Regions from separate parts of the Homo sapiens genome. Here region 1 is linked to region 2. Evidence: promoter capture Hi-C in human tissues and cell types (Jung and others, 2019). All regions are on one chromosome and are shown on one strand. The core of a region is centred on a gene start or on the middle of the fragment in contact, and the rest is flanking DNA. Distances in the headings are between cores, read along the strand shown. Region 1 holds the start of UBALD2 (UBA like domain containing 2). Region 2 overlaps MXRA7 (matrix remodeling associated 7).

Evidence for each region. Contacts are between HindIII fragments. The study calls those that stand out against the background at their distance.
Region 1: a contact is called between the fragment with the promoter of UBALD2 here and a fragment that was not itself captured in region 2, in 2 of the 25 tissues and cell types used here (aorta and dorsolateral prefrontal cortex).

The regions. Positions count from the first base shown.
Region 1 is chr17:76,263,498-76,267,360 of GRCh38, reverse strand. UBALD2 (UBA like domain containing 2) reads right to left here and starts at 2,013. Exons shown (of 3, transcript NM_182565.4): 1 at 1,736-2,013; 2 at 1,392-1,454. The coding sequence starts at 1,855. LOC105371896 (a long non-coding RNA gene) reads left to right here and starts at 2,280. Exons shown (of 6, transcript XR_007065913.1): 1 at 2,280-3,863. RefSeq lists enhancers at 1,201-1,300, 2,561-2,610 and silencers at 1,471-1,610, 1,911-2,210. The HindIII fragment of the contact is 4,971 bases long and covers 432-3,863 here.
Region 2 is chr17:76,705,424-76,709,383 of GRCh38, reverse strand. The region is part of intron 1 of MXRA7 (matrix remodeling associated 7); the gene reads left to right. Among named protein-coding and RNA genes, the nearest start is that of MXRA7, 3.6 kb to the left of the region's middle. The HindIII fragment of the contact is 4,690 bases long and covers 177-3,960 here.

The DNA of each region.
Region 1 (3,863 bases), core at 764-3,263, 440 kb after region 2:
AAAAGAGACTTAGCATCTCCTTGGGATTTGCAGAGGAGGGGCAATAGGAACTAAACAGGATGCCAGACCAGCTCTTCCTGGGGAGCCTCCCTGTTCTCAGCCCCTCAGAATGGCTGTAGTATCTGGAAGTTCTGAGTTTTTTGGGATGGCCACAGCTGGTGGAAGGAAATCTCAAGGATCCGGTGACAGGAGATGGCAGGAAGCTTCGAGACTCAAGCATAGGCGGGTGCTGGCCATTTCTCCTGGTCAAGTGCAGGGGACGGTGTCCCCTGGAGATGAAACCCTCTTGGGTTTCTAAGAGCCCTGTGGCCAGCACCATGCTCCCATCATACTCAAATGCCATTTTGGCTTGATTTATATACAGCATCAGCCATTCTGAGAAAAACTAGCTAACAAGGTCAAGACAGACCCCTCTACTTGTCCTCTGTGACTAGATGAAAACAGAGAGCCAAAGGCAAGGGCACCAAGTGTTAAAAATCCCAAAAATGCACCTAGAGTCCACAACAGCTCTCCTGGGGAACAATGTTTTAAGATCCCTATCGCTGAGCCCTGCCCCTCCTCCCCCAGCAGGGCTAATAGGTAACTAGGGGGGTAGGGTACAGGAGAGATGTCCTGGGCCTCAAGAAAGCAGAGTACCCCATGGCCAGGAGGGCAAAAGCTTGGGCCTGGGCTAGAATGAAAAAGAAAGCAAATCCAGACCCCGGACCACTTCTCTGTGTGCTGGGCTGGTGGAGCTCAACACAGAGATTAAAGACACATTCCTGGCCTTATCTTGGGTCAAAATCTGTGTGTCCTCCTGGCTTGGGGGATGTATGTCCTTCCAACTTCCCAGTCCCCTTGGGCTTCGGAAGGTTGAACAGATCTTTGTGGGTAGAGCCCGGCTTCCTGAGCCAGGGTGGATTCATGCCTTTCCTGTTCCCTGTAGCGCTGGGTGTGTGTGTGTGTGGAGGGGGAGGGGGGAAACCACTCAACAGCACGAGGGGGTCCCCATAAACACAAGCACCCCCATCGCCCTCCCTGGGCCCTTCGCGCGGGCTTCCCAGTGCCCCAGACGTCCGGGCATCACCCTCTCCCCCTCCCCATCCCCTGGCTCTGGGGTCCCCCAGCTCCTGAGCCCCTCGCCAGGCCCCCGGCCCTCTCCCCCTCCCCCCAACTTTGGCGCCGCTTCCCCCCAGGGACCAGTGCCGGGCACCAGTCCCGAGGCCAAGCAGCAGCAGCCCGGGAGGCGGGCCTCAAAGTTGGAGGCGCCAGCGCCGGCCCGGGAGCCGCTCTTTCCTGGAAGACATTTTGGCTCTTTGTTTACATTCGCGGCGCGGCGCTCCCCGGCAACATGGCTGTCACCGCCGCGCTGACAGCGGCCCCGGCCCGCGCCCCTGCCCGCCGCCGCTTACCATCTGGTGGTGGTGGTGGCTGTTGGGAATGTTGGTTTCTTGGAAGAACGTGCTCAGCGCGGTCTGCGGACAAACAGGGCAGTGACACGGCGGGCCAGGCGGAGTCAGGAAACGCAGCGGCTGGGCCCCCCACCGGCTCTCCCCGCCTCCGCGCCCGGCCCGCGGCCCCCGACCCTCGGCTGCCCCACGTGCAGAGGGGAGCCGGTCCCGGCCCCGGTCCCGCGTAAGACCCGCTCGCGGGCGCCGATCGCCTTCCGGGCCGACAACAGGAGCGCTCCCCGCCCCCGCCGCCGCCCGGCGTCCCCGACCCCCGCGGCCCGGCCCCGCGGCGGCCAGGCTCGCACCTCGAACTGCCAGTGGGCCGCCTGCAGCAACTGCTTCGCCTGGTCGGCCGCGCAGCCCGCGGCCAGCACGAACTGGTTGATCATGACCTGGTGCCGCAGCTCGTCCATGTTCACCGACATGGCGCGGCGCGGCGCGGGGCCCGGCGTCTCCGGCCGGACGCAGACGCGGGGCTGCGCGGGCGCGGGAGGCCGGCCGCCCGGGGCTCCGGGGCTCGCGCTCACCGCTGCTGCCGCCGCTCCGCCGCCCGCTCCGCCGCCGCCCGCCCGGCGAATGTTGTGGTTCGACTCCCGCGGCCCGGCCGACACCACAAACAACAGCGCGGGGCGGGGCTGGGCCGGCCCAACGTTCGGGGACTGCCGCTGATTGGCCGGGGCGCCGCTCCGCCAGCGCCCGGCTCCCGTAAGGACGTTCGATTCGAATCCTGCGGCCTGTGGGGCCCTCACTGTTTCTCTTTTCGCCCGGCCGCGCCCATTGGCGGAGCTCGGCGCCGTGGGGCTCCCCAGCATTGGCCGGCCGCTGTGTTTTGGCTCATCCGGCCTCGTGGTTGGTCACGGCCGGGCGTTCGGGGCGGGGCCGCGCACTCTGATTGGCCTCCGGTGGTCCTGTTTGAACTCAACTTGAAAACCCGGAGTGCCTGCTGATTGGCCGAGGGCCCTCTGTTTGCTGTTGTAGGCTTGGGGGTGGTGCGGCCAAGTTCATTCATTACTTCATTGAAACAGAACATGCTCAGCTGGAAAAGCAAGACAGAGTGGCTTTGACTCATTTCCTCTGAAAGATGTGGTCATCTCGAGAAACAGAATGATCAAAATAGAAAACAGAGCCTTTGCAGCTGCTCAAGTCTCAAAAGCATGTAATTTTTAAAAATAACTTTCAAGCAGTCCAATTTAAAAAAATCTTTTATTGAAATATAACGTACATTAGGAAAGTGCGATGTCGCAGGTACAGCTTCCAGACTTTTCACCAAGTGAACACCCAGATCAATTAACAGAACGTTACTTGCACCCTAGGAACCCGCGTCCTGCCCTCTTCTAATCACTACCCACCGCAAGGATCGAGCAGTATTTTCTCAGTTTTTAGACCAAAGACTTTGCTCTCTGAAGATGGAAGCCAAGATTTATGTACAATAAATACGATATGCAAGGAAATATGCAAGGAAAAAAGTGAGACTTTCTCAGTGGCCAAAATGCCAAGTCAAGAATTTTTTCTTGTTAAATCGGTTGACCTAACTGAAGCTTTAATTTTCTTTTTTTTTTTTTCTCTTGCTTGTCACGAAAGCTAAGATGAAGCTTTAATTTCTACCATCTTTTAAAAAAACAACGGGTGGCAGTAGGGGTGGAGTCTGGGGTTGGGATGGCTTACACCTATAATCCCAGCACTTTGGGAGGCCGAGACAGGAGGATAACTTGAGGCCGGGAGTTCAACACCAGCTTGGGCAACATAGCACAGACTCCATCTCTACCAAATAAAAACAAACAATAACAAACAGTGAGTGTTTCTACAGAGATACTGTTTCTCAGTGGTAGCCCTTTAAAGTCCAAAATTTGGTGGTGGTGGTTGTTAGATAGGGCTAGAGTGACATGATCATGGCTCACTGTAACTTCGAGCGATCCTCTTGCCTCAGCCTCTCGAGTAGCTGGGACTACAGGCACACACCACCATGCCTGACTAATTTTTGAATTTTTGGTAGAGATGAGATCTCACTATTGTTGCCCAGGCTGGTCTTGAACTCCTGGACTAAAGTGATCCTCCTGCCTCAGCCTCCCAAAGCACAGGGATTACAGGTGTGAGCCACCATGCCTGGCCCCAAATTTGTTTGTATGTGCTGAGCTTCCATCTTCTGGATTAGAGTTTGATCTTCAGGGCTGTGTTTGAGAATTGTGGGGGTAGGAAAAGAACTAGGAGTTTAAGCAGATTGGGGAAGGGGCAGAAGAGATTGGGAAGATAAATATTGTTAGGGATTCACTGTTAAGAGTTTCTGTTTCAGGAGAACTTTGTGAGTTTTTTATCTGAACTACTAATTACAGAGTGTATTTTAACCAGCTAAAGGTCTGCAGAACAGAAGGAGGCTTATAATAAGAAAGCACGTCGTGGTTCTATCTTGACTTTGCCTAAATTGGATTTAACTCC
Region 2 (3,960 bases), core at 1,272-3,771:
CCCTGCCGTTCTTGCTTGGGGTGGGCTTCCAGACCTCACGCGGTGATGGTGGAGGGGGCGCGGTTTGGACATGTGCTGATCTGTTGTGTTTGCTCCCATATTTGGGATTCCTGCCTCCATCGAGGTCTCGCGGGAGCAGGAGAGGCCTTTAGACAGTTCTGGAGCCGTCATGCACACTCAGTCAGTCCTGGCCTTACAGGGCTGGCCCTTTATCACCCACACCAGGCTCTGGACTGAAGTGCAAAATGTCCTTTAGCGGCGCCCTGTCTTAGCTCAATCCTGTGGGGCACAGCGCTTAAAGAACTTTCTACAAGGCTTTCGGCTCTCAGCACATGGTACCTACAGGAATAGGTTCAGTGGTGTTTAAATAGGGCCACTCGCATAATTTGCCACTGTCTGGGTGAATGCACGTCCTCTGAAGCTGAATGGGTGCTCTGAAGGACAAGGCAGTATGGGGGTTCGCGTGCCAGGCAGCCCCCATGACATAGGTGCCAGTGAGGATGACTTGAGGCTTGTGTCTGTCCTCCCGCTAAGGCACCCTCCAGAGAGAACCCACCCCACAGGAGAATTCAATTGAAGTCAGTGCCCTTCCCCTTTGGGTTCAAGTCCCCAGGCCTTCCTGAGCTGGCCAAAGCTCCCCCAAAACTCCTGCCTGCAAACATTAAGCCAGGTGCTGTGGGGACACAGATATTGTGTCATCCCACCCACTCCCAGTGGTGGCATTAACCTAAGAAGCTGCTTAGAAATTGTCTTGATGAGCTTCGAGTCAGTGACAAGAAAAAAAAGAAAGGAAAACAAATTGTCCTGAAGTGGACTCCAGCGTTTCCAAGAGCTTCCAGTGCTTTCTTCTGATGATCACACTGCTGGGGCTTGGAGGACAGATAGGGAGAAAGGCCCCCTGGGGAAGATAACTCAAATCAGGGTTGGGAAGTGGGGCTATGCCCTCTGCCAGCCTCCTTCTCCCTCCGTCCCTAAGCGAACCCCACCAACAGCGAGGGAGGAGGGCAACTCCACCTGCTGTTAGCTCGGAAGTCACTGCCCTGGGGAGCAGCGTGTAACTCACCTCTCCCCTCCCTCTTCATTTTCCATTAACTGCCTCCTTTCTAATCCAGTCCTCTCCCTTCCCAGGGAGGCCTGGGCGGGCTGGGGCAGCTGCTGCCTCTGACTACAAAGCTGATTATTGAGAAGGATCTCTCGCCCCGGGAAGCAGCCTTCAGCTGCTATTGGGGATCGCTCAGGAGCGTCCCCTAGTGCACGGTGCCCTCTTTGGCCAAGGACAAAGTAGTGGGGAGGGGCTACTATAGGCCGAGACCCTGGAAATGGACCAAAGAAATGGGGATGAGATCAGTGCAGCTCTTGCTTCCCCAGGGCAGCACAGGCCAGGGCAGGGAGGCTGAGGAGAAGCGGAATGATACTGCTAGAACCTCTTTTCTCTCCTAAGGATTAGCACAGGGTGGGCTGTGAGGAAGCATTATAGGCAAGGCCTGTTCACGCAAAGAATCATGAGCCAACGAAGTCAAGAACAGGAGCCGGCCTCTTTTCAGGCCAGGACTCAGGGCTTTCTTGGTGCTCCTGTGTAGGTTGGGGTTTTAGGATTGCCAGGCCTCTTACCTAATGGACTTGTGGATTGGAGCAAGGCTGGATGGTCGGATTCCCAAACATTGGTAATTGGCAAAGCGTCAAGGGTCATTTGAATAGCACTAGAGTTAAATTTCTTGTCTGTGCCAGGACTCAAGTATCTCGGTACTTGGGGCCTAGCTCTGCTCATAGACAGACTAGAGCCCGGGCGCGATGGCTCACACCTGTAATCCCAGCACTTTGGGAGGCCGAGGCAGGAGGATCACCTGAGGTCAGGAGTTCGAGACCAACCTGGCCAACATGGCGAAACCCCGTCTCTACTAAAAATACAGAAATTAGCCAGGCATGGTGGCGTGCACGTCATCCCATCTACTCAGGAAACTGAGGCAGGAGAATCACTTGAACCCAGGAGGCTGAGGTTGCAGTTGAGCCAAGATCGTGCCACTGCACTTCAGCCTGGGCAACAGAACGAGACTCCATCTCAAAAAAAAAAAAAAAAAAAAAAAAAAAAAAAGAGTAGGGACTTCCTGCAAGGCAGTGGGCCGGTGTCATGAAGCACACAGAGACTCTTCTAGATTTAATTGGGATTTAGGAGATTAAAGCAATATGACAAATAAATACAATCTTGATCCTTGATTGGATTCTCCATCAGAGAAGGGAGCTATAAAGGACATACTGGAGATAATTGAGACATTTTTTAAATGAATGGCTGTGTTAGGTAAGCTTATTGAATCAACGCTGAATTTTTTGTGTACGATACCGGCAGATGGCTGTGTAAACAATGTCCTTATCCTTAGGAAGATGCAGGCTGAAACATTTTGGGATGACATGTCATGATTCAAATAGTTACATGCACACACACACACAGTGTGTGTGTGTATAGAGAGAGAATGCAAAGATGGCAAAATGTTAACCATTGGTGAATCTAGGTGAAGGGTGTATGGTATTCATTGTATTATTATTTCAACTTTTCTGTAGGTTTGGAATTTTTCAAAAGAGAATGTTGGAACAAAGAAGCCAACATTCTTCTTTGGGAAATTTCTTGGGAAAGGGGTTGGTTTTTCAGACACTCTGGAGGTGGTGGTCTGAGTGGGTAGCACAGCCTTCATCTGTCTGTCTTAACCATGTGACTTGGCCCTGGTTCCCCTGAAGTCACCCTGCTGTCAGGTCCACCTGTGTCCTCTGCCCTCACCAACCTGTTCACCATAGGTGTGGGCTCTGGAAGCTACAGAGACCCCAGCCTTCCCAGAATGACCCAGGAGCAGGTGAACTTCCCCATCATCTCTCCTGCCTTTGTGATGGCAGTGTGGTCCTTTTTGATGGCAGTGTGGTCCTTTTTGATGGCAGTGTGGTCCTTTTTGATGGCAGTGTGGTCCTTTGTGATGGCAGTGTGGGCCTCTGTGACGGCAGCGTGGGCCTCTGTGACGGCAGCGTGGGCCTCTGTGATGGCAGAGTGGGCCTCTGTGATGGCAGCGTGGTCCTTTGTGATGGCAGCGTGGGCCTCTGTGACGGCAGCGTGGGCCTCTGTGACGGCAGCGTGGGCCTCTGTGATGGCAGAGTGGGCCTCTGTGACGGCAGAGTGGGCCTTTGTGATGGCAGCGTGGGCCTCTGTGATGGCAGCGTGGGCCTCTGTGACGGCAGCGTGGGCCTCTGTGACGGCAGTGTGGTCCTTTGTGATGGCAGCGTGGGCCTTTGTGATGGCAGCGTGGGCCTTTGTGATGGCAGTGTGGTCCTCTGTGATGGCAGTGTGGTCCTTTGTGATAGCAGAGTGGGCCTTCGTGATGGCAGTGTGGTCCTCTGTGATGGCAGTGTGGGCCTTTGTGATGGCAGTGTGGTCCTACTTTCTGTTCTCTTAGCAAAATCTCAGAAGCCAAGTAGTGGAGGGCCAAGTAGATATTTGCCAGTTGTTTATATCACTTTAGGTCCTTGTCTTTAAGCAGCTTAGGCTGATATATCAAAATACCACAGACTGGGTTGCTTAAACAACAGGCATTATTTCCTACACTTTTGGAGGCTGGGAAGTCCAAGATGGAGGTGTTGGCAGATTCTGGTTTTGGTGAGGGCTCTCTTTTTGGCCTGCAGACAGCCACCTTCTTGCTGTACTTTCACATGCCAGAGAGAGAGGGATGTCTCTTCCTCTTCTTATCAGGGCCCTCATAGCATTGTAGGGACTCCACCATCGTGACCTCGTCTAAATCTCACCTCCCAAAGACCCCCACCTCCAGATACCATCACACTGGGGGTTAAGACTTCAACAGATAGATTTGCAGGGGACACAAATATTTAGTCCAGAACAGGCCCAGTGACTTACTGGGGAAAAAACTAGAAATAATCCAAATGTTCATTAATTAGCACATTGGATTCATTAGCAAATTAGTATGA